Regions from separate parts of the Homo sapiens genome. Here region 2 is linked to region 1. Evidence: promoter capture Hi-C in human tissues and cell types (Jung and others, 2019). All regions are on one chromosome and are shown on one strand. Each heading gives the region's core, a stretch centred on a gene start or on the middle of the fragment in contact. The rest is flanking DNA. Distances are from core to core; before and after follow the strand shown.

Region 1 (7,750 bases), core at 3,796-6,295:
CTCACGCCTGTAATCCCAGTACTTTGGGAGGCCGAGGCAGGTGGATCACCTGAGGTCAGGAGTTTGAGACCAGCCTGGCCAACATGGCAAAACCCCGTCTCTACTAAAAATACAAAAAATTAGCCAGGTGTGGGGGCGGGCACTTGTAATCCCAGCCACTCCGGAGGCTGAGGCAGGAGAATTGCTTAAACCCAGGAGGCAGAAGTTGTGGTGAGCCGAGATTGTACCATCGCACTCCAGCCTGGGTAATAAGAGCAAAACTCCATCTCAAAAAAAAAAAAAATAAAAAGAAAAGAAAAGAAAAGAAATGACACCATCCTAAAATGACAAGCATCCTTCTTAAAATGACACCCTGAGCAGAGTCCCTAAAAGGAACAGTTGAGGCCAGGCTCAGTGGCTCATGCCTTGCAATCCTGAGCTTTGGGAGACTGAGGCAGGAGGATGCCTTGAGGCCAGAAGTTTGAGACAAGCCTGGGTAACATAGTAAGACCCCATCTCTACAAAACATACAAAATTAAAAATAATTAACTAGGCGTTGGGGGGGCACACCTGTAGTCCTAGCTACTCAGGAGGCTGAGGCGGGAGGATTGCTTGAGCCCAGGAGTTTGAGGCTGCAGTGAGCTATGATCACACTACTGCACTCCAGCCTGGGTGACAAAGCAAGGCCCCATCTCTATTTAAAAAAAAAAAGGAACAATTGTGAATGCCAGCAGACACCCACTGTCTAGTCAGTGACATTCAGTCACTTGGAGCTGGGCACAAGGACAGTCCATCCCCCTGGAGGGTTACTCTTCAGGTCACAAGGTATAGGACCAAATCCTCCTACTCTGGGACTTTGCACTCATATCTTTTGAAATTAGAAATTTCATCCTTTTTTTTAATCAAGATCTTGATATGGGATAATAAAATTACCAATGAATAGCCCTGCACAACGTGGGAAATGTAATAAAAGGTGAAGGCAATAAAAGGTGAAGCTTCTAGCCACTCCGCGGTGATACCCACTCGTAAGAAATAAAAGTAATTATCACCTGCCCAACCTGGTCGGCTCACTCTGCATGTGCTGAAGAAAACCATTTCAGAACTTTATTTCTTATATTGAATGTCGATAATTGGATGTATTTATAAGTCTCTCTGGAAGAAAACAGCTTGTGATTTCAAGATGGGAAAACAGTCTTCGAAACAGTGAGAAACAATATATTCCCCATTTCCACACACACAAAAAGAGCTTGTTTCCTTCGATGTTTTCAGGTGCTGTTGGAATGATTTGCTTTTCCGAAGCCACCGTTCCATTTCTCATCTTGAATTGCCTCGTAGACCCCAGCAAAGCATTCAGCAGGGACCACTTCATCTGAGGCGGTGATGGGGGCTTCCTTGGGAAGGCCCCTCAGCTCTGCCTGCCTCTTTTCTACAGGAAGATAGATGCCCAGGTGGGCTGGGCTGGGGGAGAAAGGAGAGGAGGAGTAGAACGTGATGTGGGGGCTCCTGTGAGGAGGGGGGTTGATGGATGGTGGTGACAGCTGGGGTGTAGGCCTGGAGGAAGGAGCAGGCCACACAGGCCTTTGGAGTGGGAGAGCTGTGGCTACCTCTGCAGGCCCTGCAAAGGCCCAAGGCTGGGATCTGCCAGAACCAGGATAGAGAGACGGTCTCCTGGGCATTCCACACCCATCACGCTCCTTGCTTTCCCACTTGGGAAGACACTGGGTTGCCATATGCCACCCTGCCCCTATCTCACACCCACAGTCCCCTCTATTCTTCCTCTTCTGTTTATTTGGTGCTGGCTTTCTGCATCCAGTCTTCTATTCTCAGCAAAAGCAAACAATCGCAAAACACCCAAATGCCATCTTGTGTAGGGCTTTGACCATCTGAGGCTGGCGGCCCCGTGCAGTGGCTTTATTGGCTCTTATTGGCTCTTTTCAGTTCTCTCTGCTAATCCTCCTGAGCTCCTGCTGGAGAGAGGGGTTTGGATCGGCAGCTTGCAGCTCAGAATCCCCCAGGATCTCCCCATTAGCCAAAAGCAGAACCCTCGAAGCCCCGTTCTGAGGCCCTCCCAGATGGTGGACTCCCCAGGGACAGTGTGGAGGGCTCCTCTACCTCTGTCCCCAGACCAAAGATCCTCTAGGCAAGGGCAGGGTCTGGATCCCTGGCCCTCACAGCATGGCCAGTCCTGGAGTGGCACTGTGGGCAACAACTGGGTGGTGCAGGGCAGAACCAGCATCCAGGCTACCTCCAGTGCAGTCCCACAGAGCCTCTGGTAGACCAGTGCCCTCAATCCACAGCAGAAGATGGACAGGGCTCTTCCCGGGGACCTCCCCTTCATGGCCCAAGGGTGGCTCATGAGTCAGAGCCTAGCAGGCCGCCACATCTGGGCCTGCCGTCTCCAGGCAGCCAGCTGTCAGCAGCGTCCACGGAGTTGCAAGAGTGGGGGCTAGATTGTGGGGAATGGGTGGAGGAGGGAAACCTGGCTGGACACAGTGTCCCGGGACACAAGAGGTGTCTTCCCAGGGTGAAGCTTCTTTTGCAAGGCCTGACGGGAGTTGGGGGGGCCCTTCTGGAGAATAATGCTATGCTGGCTACCGGGCTACCAGGCTGACCGAGTGCAGACATCTACCAGCCACCTGCAGGGCTTGACGAGAGGAGACTGTTTCGGCCACAAGGGCCTGTGACCTCGGAGGCAATGCCGCATGAGAGTGCTGCCTGGCGCGCTGCCTTGGCTGATTTACACACTCCCACTTCGACTCTCTAAAATCAATCTTCCCCCAATTGCCTCCTGGCTCCAGCAACGTCCTGGGTCTGCCCTGCATAAGTAACTAAATGGTCTTCTCCCATATTCTGGGCGGCTTCTGGAGCCCCTGCCACAGCCTCTGATGGGGAGGGGTGAGGGGTGAGGGGCAGCCCTGCCGGAGCCCCTGATGGGGAGGGGAGAGGGCAGGGGACCTGGGTGGGCAGGGGTCATGGGCAGTGCCTCCATATTACTGTCCACAAACAAGGGAGCTCCACTCAGTTGGTGGGTGCCTTCCTTCCATTATTTTGTGTTTGGGATATTGACTTCTTTTTCATATTAGTAAGCACTCAGAGCTGGCAGCTGGCTTAATTTTGACATATTTTATGTCAAAAGAAATGGTGGGAGGCAGGTGCAATGAATGAGCTGGGGGGTATGTTTTCCTTCCTTGAAGGCGCATGGAAAGCTCATTCTGCTCACCCTTTGTTATTATGTATTTTTTAAAGCGCCACTTACTAGGGAGTTGAGTTTCTTAAGCTGAAGGCGGACCTACTGCTTAACTAGGGGTGTTAGAAGTTCTCAGGGGCCCCTAGGCCAGGCAGTGGGGTGTGAATCCTTACCTCTGTTCTTCTTCCTGGAAACTGGCAAGAGGGTGGAGAGAGCTCCTCTTGGACCTTGCCTGGAGGTCAGGGACCCCTGCAAATTGTCCATGTGTTGTGGGAAGGGGTAGAAGGGATGAGGCCCCCCCTCTTCCATTAGCTCTCGTTTTCCTTATCTGGGACCGGGAGGTGGGAGGGGCTGTCTGGAGGGGCCACATTCCTCCTGGCAGCTTTGGTCTCTGGCTGTGCCTGCAGGTTTGAGTGTAAAACCCTCTAGCAGCCCTGTGAGGTGGCCCCATTAGCTCTCTCCTGACAGATGAGGACAGCAGGGATGGTACTGGGCTTCCAGGTAACTGTGCCACGTGCCCTTCACTACCCTGCTTATGGCTGGCTCCCTTGCTCCTATTTAAGGGGCCTATTCTCCTCCCTGCTTCATGGGGACAAACAGAAGCTGCTTCTCCAGTCATAGCCCCTGGCTCCCACCAGCCTGGCCATGGTGACCCACATCCTTGTTTCGATAAAGAAACAAGAAGCATCCCCCAACCCACAACCTTTGATCAGAAGCCACTTCCAGCTGTGGGACAGCTGCAGGGTGGGGTCAGGAGCCCCACACGCCTATCCTGGGCCACCCATCCACCTGTCCACACACATCTGTACACCACACACATCTGTACACCCTTGGCGCCAGGGACGCCCTCCCCCAACAGTGTGGGGCCCCCTTCCTTCACAGGGGCAGTGAGGTCACTCCTCAGGGTATGGCTTCATGAGCTCAGCCTCTGTGTGAGCACTCTCTGGCCTCAGTTTCCTCATCTGTATAATAGACTTAAAGATAGTCTCGACCTCATAGGGCTGTGGTGAGGTTTCTATGAGCTCACATGTGCAACGCATTTGGGCCGTGCTTGTAATGCCCTGACTCTGTTGGCAGTAGGGAGGGCAGCGTCTGCTGCAGGGTCCCTACACCTTCTCTGCAGGACTCTGCACCCAGTACCAGTGCCCAGTGGGGCAGAGGAGTAAGCCTTCTGGCAGACTCTCCCTCCTAAACCCTTCTCGGCTGTGCCCACTTCTCGCCTGCCCTCCTCCCTGGCTTCCCTTCCTCCAGCTTCTCCATTCTGCAGCCCAGGAAACCTAGAAAAGATCCTACCAGACTTAACTCATAGGCCCCACAGTGGAGGCCCCGCAGGGTCTGGCCCTTGCTTCCCTTAGGCTGCCCCTCTCTCGCGCACATTCTCCTGGACGCTGCACATTTAGAGTCCTCCAGTTGCCCCACGGCCTTTGCTCAAGCCCTTTCCCTTCTTAAACAAAAATCGCCACCTCTGCCCCGACCCTAGCCTGGGTCAGTCTCCCTCCTCTCCTCCCACGTGGTTTCTTTATTCCTATGTGTTCTTCTCCCGGGTGGGCTGGTACGCCAGATCGGGGACTGAACCAGAATCAAGATGTCCTCTGCTTCAGGACCTCCCTCCCACCACGAAAAGGCTGCAGATGCTGCCCGCTAACCCGACCTACTGTCTGCAGCCGGCAGCCCGCTCATTTATCCTGGCCGAGCTCTTGGGCCCCCAATCTCCGGGAGCCCCGCCCCATCGGGGCTCCGCCCTTCCCCAGGTACCGCCCCTTCCCGTCCCGTGGAATTTGGCTCTGGAGGAGGTGGGTCAAGGACTCCATGCCCCGCCCCCTGCCCCGCCCTTACCCCGCCCCATGCATTGGCACCCGGAGGGGCTCAGCTGACGCCGCACTTCACGTGACGCCGGTGCCGGGCGAACATGGCGGCGGCCACCGGGTGAGTGCTGCGCCTCCCTCGCTCTTTCCCGCTGGCGTGGAGAGGGGCATGGGTGTCCCGGCCGGACCGCGGGTGAGAGCGTCAGCCGGGGTCGCTGAATGCCGCGGGTAGGCGCCTCTTCCCGTTGGCCCGGAGTCCCAGCGCCGGTCGGCGAGCTGCACGCTCCGAGTCAGGGTCAGCGCGGGGGCCGCAGCTCCTCTCCACCCTCCTGGCTGGCTCCGGCCCCACCTGCCCGCGTCTGGCGGCCCCACCGTGTGCGGCTGCGGTGGGGGCTGGGGTCGACACGCATGTTCGCTGCCAAGACCCCCGGGTAGGAGGGCGGCGTTGCGAGGACCCCAGGGACCCGGGCGCTTCCCGGAGGAGGCGGTATTCGAGACGGACTTGGAATTCCCTTTTCCCAGCAGGGCACTTCCCCATTTCTTTCAGGGGCCAAATGTCACCCCCTCAGGGAATCCTTCTCTAACCATCTATCCCACTTTTTGTGCCCTCATCATCACCTGATAAACTATATAGAGCATTGTTTGTACTTGTTCTTTATCTTCTCTGCATTTAGAGTGCAAGGGCAGGTATGTTACCTGCTTCTCAGTAGCCCGGTGCCTTGCACACAGTAGGTGCTCCATACTGGGCTAAATGAAAGAAAGCTGAGTGGTCGTAGTGGGAGGAAGGGTGGACAGATGGGTTCACCAGAGCGTTGGGCGGAATCTCCCAGATAGGGAGCATCTGAGCCCAGGGTAAGGGACAAAGGTTGAGAGTTCAGAGTGTTCTGGGGACAGGGGTGCATGCCTGGGGCTGGTTGGAAGGTGTGGTGTTCCAGGTGGCGGCTTCAGACTTTGCCCTGATGGGCTGGAAGGGTTTTGTTACAAGCTGCTTGATCTGTTTTTTAAAGATTAGGCTCCCCTGAGCTATGTGTGAGTTCAATGGGAGAAGGTGTGGGTCTGGTGGTACAGTGGGGTAGAGGGGGCATGGTGTAGGAGGGAGCAGTATTCCAGATGCCAGGTTGGAAACTGAGGTCAGAATGGGGGATCTAGTGGACTGAATGCATCTCTCTTTTTAAGATACAGGGAAAATGGCAACAGAAAGTGGGTTCTAAGTTGGCCCCCAAGGTTGAGGGAGCTTAGAGCATACAAATCAAATATTTTGTGGGCACCTGCTATATTCCAGGAATAGCAGTGGGTCTTCCCTTAAGGTACTCACAGGCCACTGGAACAGATGGACACATGGGACTCTGTCATCCATCTGCTTGCCGTGTGGTCTTGCCATTTGCAAAGGAGGGGCATGGACTCTGAGCTCAGATAAAGTGTGGGAAGGCTTCACTTCCTGGGTGACTTTTGTGCTAGTCCTTCAGCAATGAGACTCCCTTCAGGTAGAGAACAGTGCAGACAAAGTCTCAGATGGGTGTCAAGGAACTCAGGGTCAGATCCTTGAATCCAGCCTGTGACCCTTTTAAAGGGTAGACTGAGCAGGCTGGTGCCCAGCTGTGGGTGTGCTGTCTCTCTGGTTAGGCTGGCTCGGTGCTCACAGGGAGTGCCAGGGGTTGCATTTGGGTTCAGGATTCCAAGCTGGCCTGAGACCTGCTGCTCTCCTGAAGGAACCAAGCTGATGTCTGGACGGGAGCAAGTCTGGAACTGACTGGATCCTGGAATGAGAGCTTTTCTTTTTCTCTTTCTTTTTTTTTTTTTGAGACGTAGTTTTGCTCTTGTTGCCCAGTCTGGAGTGCAATGGCATGATGGCTCACTGCAACCTCCACCTCCCAGGTTCAAGCGAGTCTTCTGCCTCAGCCTCCTGAGTAGCTGGAATTACAGGCGTGTGCCACCACACTCAGCTAATTTTTTGTATTTTTAGTGGAGATGGGGTTTCACCATGTTGGCCAGACTGGTCTCGAACTCCTGACCTCAGGTGATCCACCCGCCTCCGCCTCCCAAAGTGCTAGGATTACAGGTGTGAGCCACCACGCCTGGCCCCAGAATGAGAGCTTTTCTAGCAGAACCGATTCTCTGGGCCACCACACAGGGTGGGTGAGGGAGGCAAAACAGAGTGGCAGGTCTTAGAGAGGTCTGCTATTGAGAGGGTGTGGGAGCTTCCAGAGCCTGGCAGTCTCCTTGGGAAGAGCCATCCCAGTCTGGTATGGGGCTTTCCCATGTACTTTGAGCCTGAGGTTGACCCCAGTGGCTTCCTTTAGAGCAGAATGATTAAGTGTGTTTCCCGCAAAGCTCAGCTCCTAGCCACACTCACAGAACAGATCATAGAGTCAGGCATAACGAGGCATGATGCCAGCAAGTCACGGCCATTGCCGTGGGCTCACTGGGAGTTGGGTTTGGTTGTCTGTAGAATCCTACCAGAGCCTGGGACAGAGGGGGTCCATGAGAGTTCCAGGTGACTGGGGTGTGCCCCATATGATTTGGGGAGTAGGGGAAGCCCTAAACTAGCATCTCAGATTTAATTTGAAACTCAAGAATCTACTCTGAATGCATCTCTCTTTTTAAGATGTGGGGTGTTTCAGGGTTGATCCTACTTTCTCTTGCTAGCCTGGGTGTAGGCTTCAGGTTGAGACAGAGTGCGCTGAGGTCACCTCCCATCCCCTCATGGAGAGGGGTCCCTATCCCATGGCACTTGGTGGCACTGCTGCTGTCTCCTTAAGCAATGCTTTGAGCTTTCCAC
Region 2 (7,750 bases), core at 1,855-4,354, 590 kb before region 1:
GGGCGACAGAGAGAGACTCCATCTCAAAAAAAAAAAAAAAAAGAAAAAAGAATCTGTTCCTTAGCACCCCCATTCCTGTTTCCAAATGAGTTTCCTGGAAGTAGATCCTGAGACAATAATTTTTGAGCAAATATGATGTTATTAAGGAACTAGTCCCAGCAAAGACTAGTAAGAGATTGTCGTGGGCTGGGTGTGGTGGCTCATGCCTGTAATCCCAGCACTTTGGGAGGCTGAGGCAGGAGGATCACTTGAGGCCAGGAGTTCAAGACTAGCCCGGGCAACATAGTGAGACATCTGTCTCTACTGAAAAACTATGAATTAATTTTAAACAAGACATTGTGGTAAGCAGATACGGAAGGGGAGGAAGCCAAGCAGAATGTACTATCAGGCCAGAGTCCCACAGTGGATAGGCTTCAGTTTGATCTGACAGGGGCATTTGTGCATGTAGATGGTGCTGCAGAGGCGTGTTAACCTTGGGCTAAGGCTAGTGCCTCCCAGGCACTTCTAGCTCCTGTGCCTGTGGACGGTGTGACTCTGGCAACCCAAAGGCAGTCCTCTAAAGAAGAGGTTGGCCAGGCGCAGTGGCTCACACTGTAATCCCAGCACTTTGGAAAGCCAAGGCGGATCACCCAAGGTTCTGAGTTCGAGACCAGCCTGGCCAACATGGTGAAATCACATCTCTACTAAAAATACAAAAATTAGCCAGGCGTGGTGGTGGGTACCTGTAATCCCAGCTAGTTGAGAGGTTGAGGCAGGAGAATCGCTTGAACCTGGGAGGTGGAGGTTGCAGTGAGCCAAGATCATGCCACTGCACTCCACCCTAGGCAACAGAGCGAGACTCCATCTCAAAAAAAAAAAAAAAGGAAGCGGCCCAGGAGCTGCCATTAGGACCAAAATCACATTACAGCTAAAGGTGTGTAAAGCCATAGTATACAGGAACCTGGGCAATCTGGGCAGAGTACCTGCATTGTTTTCTGCAAGAGAGAGTGTGGACTGAGGACCAAGCCAGCCTTTGGAGTGGGCCTTAGAAATCTGCAGAGGAGACCAAGAGAAGAGGCCAGTGGGGACAGAGGAAAAACCCAGGGAGCACTTCAGGAGAGGTGTGCTGCCCTGGGCAGTGTCTAGTGCAGCATCCAGAGTGGACTCCAGGGCTTCTGACCTGGGGACTCTGGATGGTGCTCCATGGGCTTCCACTGAGATGGGACGGTGGGGAGCTCAGGAAGGGTTGTGGTTTGGCTTGGGAGGTGGAGACTTTGATTTCGTTTTTTGAGACAGGGTCTTACTTTGTGACTCAGGCTGGAGTGCAGTGGCATGATCACAGCTCACTGCAGCCTTGACCTCCTGGGTTCAGATGATCTTCGCACCTCAGCTTCCCAAGTAGCTGGGACTTTAGGCACGTGCCACCATGCCTGGCAAATTTTTACAATTTTTTTTGCAGAGATGGGGTTTTGCCATGTTGCCTAGGCTGATCCTGAATTCCTGGACTCACGTGATCCTGTCACCTCAGCCTCCCAAAGTGCTAGGATTACAGGTGAGAGCCACTGTGCCCAGCCTGATTTCATTTTTATCTATTGTATAAGAAAGAAAATATAGGCAAGGCATGGCGGCTGTCACCCATAATCTCAGTGCTTTAGGGGGCTGAGGTGGGAGGATTGCCTGAGGTCAGGAGTTTGAGATGAGCCTGGGCAATAGAGCAAGCCCCCGTCTCTACCAAAAAAAATTAGCTGATTGTAGTGGTGTGCACCTGTAGTCCCACTACTTGGGAGGCAGAAGTGGAAGGATCTCTTGAGGCCAGGAGTTCAAGGCTATGATGAGTTATGATCATGCCACTGCACTGCAGCCTGGGCAACAGAGTGAAACCCCCATCTCTACAAAAAAAATTAAGAAAATAATAAAATAAAAATTAAAAAAGATAGGCAAAATATTTTATATGCCACTCCTAAAGTTTCTTAAATTGTAATGAAATAACCACAAGGGAAAAATTTCTGACAACATTCAGAGATGCTACTGCTATTAAAAAACTGGATGATCGTTTCACTTTTCTCTGTGGGTTTCATTTAAAGGTACAGCAATAAACCCATATGCCTTGATTCCTTATGGTTTAATTTTACGTTAGGTCTCAGTGTGACTTAGTAAGTCATTATAGGAACTCTACTCTGTGTTAATGAAGGCAATGAAGGCATCCTCCCTTCTCTAAGGGGCTGGCCGTGTGACAGGGAAGTTAGCTGTGCTTGTAAAGCCACATCACATGGAGAAAGAGGACGAGGAGCCACTCTACTGTGGCCTTTACAGATGGCTTCACAGAGGTCTTGGCTCTGAGCCTTGGTTAATGAGCTGGGGTTTGCTGATCCACAAGTGAAGGAGAGGCTGTTGGGTATGACAGTGGTGCCAGAGAGCAAGATGCTCTGTATGTGTGTGTGTGTGTGTATGTTTTTTTTTTCTTTTTTGAGACAGAGTTTTGCTCTGCTACTCAGGCTGGGGTGCAGTGGCACAATCTTGGCTCACTGCAACCTCTGCCTCCTGGGTTCAAGCGATTCTCCTGCCTCAGCGTCCGCAGTGGCTGGGATTACAGGTGCACGCCAGCACATAGGCTAATTTTTTTTTTTGAGACGGAGTCTTGTTCTGTCACCCAGGCTGGAGGGCAGTGGCATGATCTCAGCTCACTGCAACCTCTGCCTCTTGTGCTCAAGTGATTTTCCTGCGTCAGCCTCCCGAGTAGCTGGGATTACAGGCACGTGCCGCCATGCCCAGCTAATTTTTGTATTTTTAGTAGGGTTTCACCATGTTGGCCATGATGGTCTCAAACTCCTGACCTCAGGTGATCCACCCTCCTTGGCCTCCCAAAGTGCTGGGATTACAGGTGTGAGCCACTGTGCCCAGCCCGAGATGCTGTGTTTCAGAGGCAGGGGGGCAAGAGGAAAGGAGTCTAGACAGGTTTGCGAAAGCCAGGAGGAGAACCGCACAGGTGGTGCCACCATGAAGGCCCAGCTCAGCATCTTGCACGCAGCAGGCTCTCTGTAGGACTCGCTGATTAATTAGCCCCTAGGTAAGTTTCTTGCTCCAACTCTCCACTGACTGAAGCTAGGCTCTGATATTGAGTGGAGGGAATGTGGGAGAGGATCTGAGCATCACGTAAATGCCTGAAAACAACATATTTTTAGGATGAGTTCAGCATAATACTGGCCCTAATTATTTATTTATTTATTCTTTATATTTTTTGAGAAAAGGTCTCACTCTGTTGCCCGTGCTGGAGTACAGTGGCCTGATCTTAGCTCACTGCAGCCTCGAATTCCTGGGCTCAAGCCATCCTCCTGCCTCAGCCTCTTGAGTAGCTGGGACTAGAGGCATGTCCACCATGCCTGGCTAATTTTTTGTATTTTTAATGAAGACGGGGTTTTGCTGTGTTACTGGTCTCAAACTCCTGAGCTCAAGCAATGCCCCCACCTTAGTTTCCCAAATGCTGAGATTACAGGCATGAGCCACTGCACTTGGCCTTAGTTATTTTTCCATCCACTGGTGGTTTTTTTTTTTTTTCCTGAGTCGCTCTGGAATGCAGTGGCGTGATCCCGGCTCATGGCAGCCTCTGCCTCCTGGATGCCAGCAATTCTCATGCCTCCGCCTCCCAAAGTGCTGGAATTACAGGTGTGAGCCCACCATGCCTGGCCTCCACTATTTTTGATGTCACAATCTTATGGCTCTGGGGATGGTTTTTAGAAGCTTTGTAACTGTAATTTTTTTTTCTCAAATAACTTAAGAGTTCCTAAAAAGAGCACCTGCTTTATTTAAGAGGAATTATGCTTTATCTCATATTATTTGCAATCTAAGTATCTGAAATTCTTAGAGTCACCTACCCCACCACACGTGTGGACACACCTAGGGCAGTTAGAAGAACAGGTTGGGGCAGAGCAGGTTGGAGCCTTGGCACCCTTCAGTGTGCTAAGGTCACAGGTCAGGGACACGTTCAGATGCACCGTTTGGTATCATGTTGACGTTTGGTTTTATTCTAAATGGTTCATTCGTTTCTAGTATCTAATGAAGATAAACATCAGAACTCTGTAACTCTGCAATTCGTTCATTGGGAAAAGAAGTTCCTTCTGTAGGGTCTGTTCCCAGGGAGGGGGAGAGGGAAATACACCTGTGGCTGGTAAAGGTGACACTGGAGGAGTTGGGGTGTGGCCCCACCTTTACACACCTGGAGGGTGGAAAATGGTCTTTGTGAAGCCTTTCTGTGGTTCCAAGTGTGAATCTTCTGGAGGGGCAAATCAGTTTTTCCTCTTTGTGACTTCCTTGTTTTAAAAAGATTGTCCCTGGAGCCAGGCGTGGTGGCTCACGCCTGTAATCCCAGCACTTTGGAAGGCTAAGGTGGGCGGATCACCTGAGGTCAGGAGTTCACGACCAGCCTGGCCAACATGGTGAAACCCCATCTCTACTAAAAATACAAAAGTTATGCGAGTGTGGTGGTGCACAGCCTGTAATCCCAGCTGCTTGGGAGGCTGAGGCAGGAGAATCACGAACCTGGGAGGCGGAGGTTGCAGTGAGCAGAGATGGCGCCACTGCACTCCAGCCTGGGCGACAGAGCGAGACCCCATCTCAAAAAAAAAAAAAGATTGTCCCTTTTTTATTCTCAGGGAACACAGGTGAGAGAAGTTTAGGAGAACTCTTTGGTTCACAACACCTCTTTTTTTGTCCATCTTGTTTGGGCTTCATAAACAGCTCTTGTTAATTCAAGGGCCATGTTTTCCTTTCGCAGAGCCATTTTATGGGGATTGACTCTCAGTCGTGATGTATGATTTTATTCTGAAAGTATGACTCAGGATCAAGTGGTAAAAGTACCGAGTTTAAATGTGTTCACAAATATTTGGGCCGAGTGCGGTGGCTCACCCTGTAATCCCAGCACTTGGGAGGCTGAGGGCGGGCGGATCGCTTGAGTCCAGGCATTCGAGACCAGTCTGAGCAACATGGTGAGATCTTGTCTCTACAAAAAATAAAAAAAATTAGCAGGCATAGTGTTGTGCGCCTGTAGTCTCAGCTACTTGCAGGGCTGAGGCAGGAGGATCACTTGAGTCCAGGAGGTCAAGGCTGTAGTGAGCTGAAATTGTACCACTGCACTGGGCAGCAGAGCAAGACCGCGTCTTAAATTAAAAAAAAAAAAAATTGAAGCTAAATATATGTGTGGGTGTGGTATTAGACATTTTTTTTTGTCTTTATGTATAACTAACTGAATTCATGGCAGTTATTTGGTAGTCTTGGTTTATAGACTTTTTTTTTTTTTGAGATGGAGTCTTGCTCTGTCACCCAGCCTGGAGTGCGGTGGCACAATCTCTGCTCACTGAAACCTCTGCCTACCAGGTTCAAGCTATTCTCCTGCCTCAGCCTCCTGAGTAGATGGGATTACAGGTGCCCGCCACAACAAAAATTAGCCTGGCTAATTTTTTTTTTTGAGACAGAGTCTTGTTCTGTTGCCCAGGCTGCAGTGCAGTGGCGCGATCTTGGCTCACTGCAAGCTCAGCCTCCCGGGTTCAAGCCATTCTCCTGCCTCAGCCTCCTGAGTAGCTGAGACTATAGGCGCCGCCACCATGCCTGGCTAATTTTTGTATTTTTAGTAGAGATGGGGTTTCACCTTGTTAGCCGGGATGGTCTCCATCTCCTGACCTCATGATCCGCCCGCCTCGGCCTCCCAAAGTGCTAGGATTACAGGCGTGAGCCACCGTGCCCATCCTAGCCTGGCTAATTTTTGTATTTTTAGTAGAGACGGGATTTCACCATGTTGGCCAGGCTGGTCTTGAACTCCTGACCTCAATTGATCCGCCCACCTTGGCCTCTCAAAGTGTTAGAATTACAGGCATGAGCCACCACACTCAGCCAGTTCATAGACCTTTGAAATTAAGGCTTTTAAACATTTGTTCTTCAAACATTTACTGGGTGGGTGTTATATGCTGGGCAATATAGGCGTTGGTGTAGGAAGATGTGAATTCAAGTCCTAATTCTGTCATTTGCCAGCTGTTATGTCTTTGGGAAAATCACTTAGCTTCTTTGAGTTGCAGTATATAAACTAGTTTTCATAATGCATAACTTGTGTGGTGGTTATGAGGGTTAAGTACAAAGTATGGCACTACGTATAAAACAGTGCTTGATTTTTAGTAGGCACTTAATAAATGCTAGTTTTTTCTTACCATGAAGGATTCCAAGCTTTAAAAATTACTCTTTTTTCTTTTCTTTTTTTTATACAGGGTCTTGCTCTGTCACTTAGGCTGGAGTGCAGTGGTAGGATCATAGCTCACTGCAGCCTCGACCTCCTGGGCTCAAGCTATCCTCCCACCTCAGCCTCCTGAGTAGTGGGGACCACAAGTCCGCACCACCATGCCCATCTAATTCTTTTTAATTTTTTGTAGAGACAGGGTCTTGCCATGTTGCCTAGCCTGTTTTCAAACTCCTGGGCTCAAGTGTTCCTCCTACCTTGGCCTCCCAAAGTGTTGGGATTATAGGTGTGAGCCACTGAGCCCGGCCATTTTAAAGCTTTTAGAAACTGGCTCACGCCTGTAATCCTAGCACTTTGGGAGGCCAAGGTGGACAGATCACTTGAGCTCAGGAGTTTGAGACCAGCCCAGGTTACATGGCAAGAACCCATCTCTACAAAAAATAGAAAAATTAGTTGGGTGTGGTGGCGAGCACCTGTAGTACTAGCTACTCCGGAGGCTGAGGTGGGAGGATCGCCTGAGCCAGGAAGGTGGAGGCTGCGGTGAGCCATGATTATGCCACTGCACCCCAGCCTGGGTAACAGAATGAGACCCTGTCTCAAAAAAATAACAGAAATGAAAAAATAAAATTAAAGCTTTTAGAAACATACCTGTACACATGTGGTGCATTACATGACTGAGTCATTCTAATTGATTCTGACTTACAAAATCCCTTTGACATAACAAAATATAGTTGTGAATACTCATTTTCCCAAAAATATGTTGTATTTGTGGTGATTACTTAAGTAATATGTAAAATATAATAAGTAATATGCAAATATGTATATGTGTAAGTATATACATGTGTGTATACATATATGTATAAGTATATACATGCGTGTATACACATATGTATAAGTAATATGTAAAATAAGTAATAATATGTAAAATCACTAATATGTAAAATAAGTAATAAGTAATATGTAAAATAAATAATATGTAAAATGCACATTAGTCCAGCCAACATTTGGTTAGCCTGTGAAAGATAAAACCGTGTTCATTTGACATTAGAAATGACTGCAACCAGGAATTGCAAGGTCAGGGTTTAACATTCTAGAAAACTCCCGCAGGCCTAAGGAGGAATTTCATTGTCATGTGCAATTGGTAGCACGGGCGGATCTTGAAGTGCTGTCATTGACAGCTTCATGTTTTTGACACTCCTTTGCTGCCTGGGGAAGCAGGGAATTCACCTCTGCACCCACAGCAGCTTTTACTACCTTCATCACCATTTCATACCTTCTAATTAACCAAACTTGCTCTACCTTGATAAATCCATGTATGTGTAACGTGGCATATTCCTGATAAACTCTGCAAACATATTTGTTTACGCCTGAGTCCCTTTTTCTTTTTGTAGTCTCTTAAAAAAAAGCCCCGCCTTTTTTTGTTTTTTAAAAAAGCCCCCTCTTTCTTGCAGGTGATCCCTCCCGATGCCGTGTGGACACTCACCGGGGGCTGGATCCCTGCTGGACTTGAAGTCGCCAGAGGTTTTTTTTTTTTTTGTGAACCCCTAAGCA

What was found. The method cuts DNA at HindIII sites, captures the fragments that hold promoters and counts their contacts. A contact is called where the count stands out against the background at its distance.
Region 2: a fragment that was not itself captured here is called in contact with the fragment with the promoter of PEPD in region 1 in 1 of the 25 tissues and cell types used here (aorta).

Annotation. Positions count from the first base shown.
Region 1 is chr19:33,519,086-33,526,835 of GRCh38, reverse strand. It overlaps PEPD (peptidase D), which reads left to right and starts at 5,045. Exons shown (of 15, transcript NM_000285.4): 1 at 5,045-5,092. The coding sequence starts at 5,076. It overlaps LOC105372370 (a long non-coding RNA gene), which reads right to left and starts at 4,902. Exons shown (of 3, transcript XR_935918.3): 1 at 4,822-4,902; 2 at 3,340-3,415; 3 at 1,059-1,437. RefSeq lists enhancers at 3,818-4,780, 4,781-5,744 and a silencer at 4,836-5,035. The HindIII fragment of the contact is 21,434 bases long and covers 1,743-7,750 here.
Region 2 is chr19:34,104,337-34,112,086 of GRCh38, reverse strand. No RefSeq gene overlaps it. Among named protein-coding and RNA genes, the nearest start is that of LSM14A, 64 kb to the left of the region's middle. The HindIII fragment of the contact is 7,140 bases long and covers 1-6,674 here.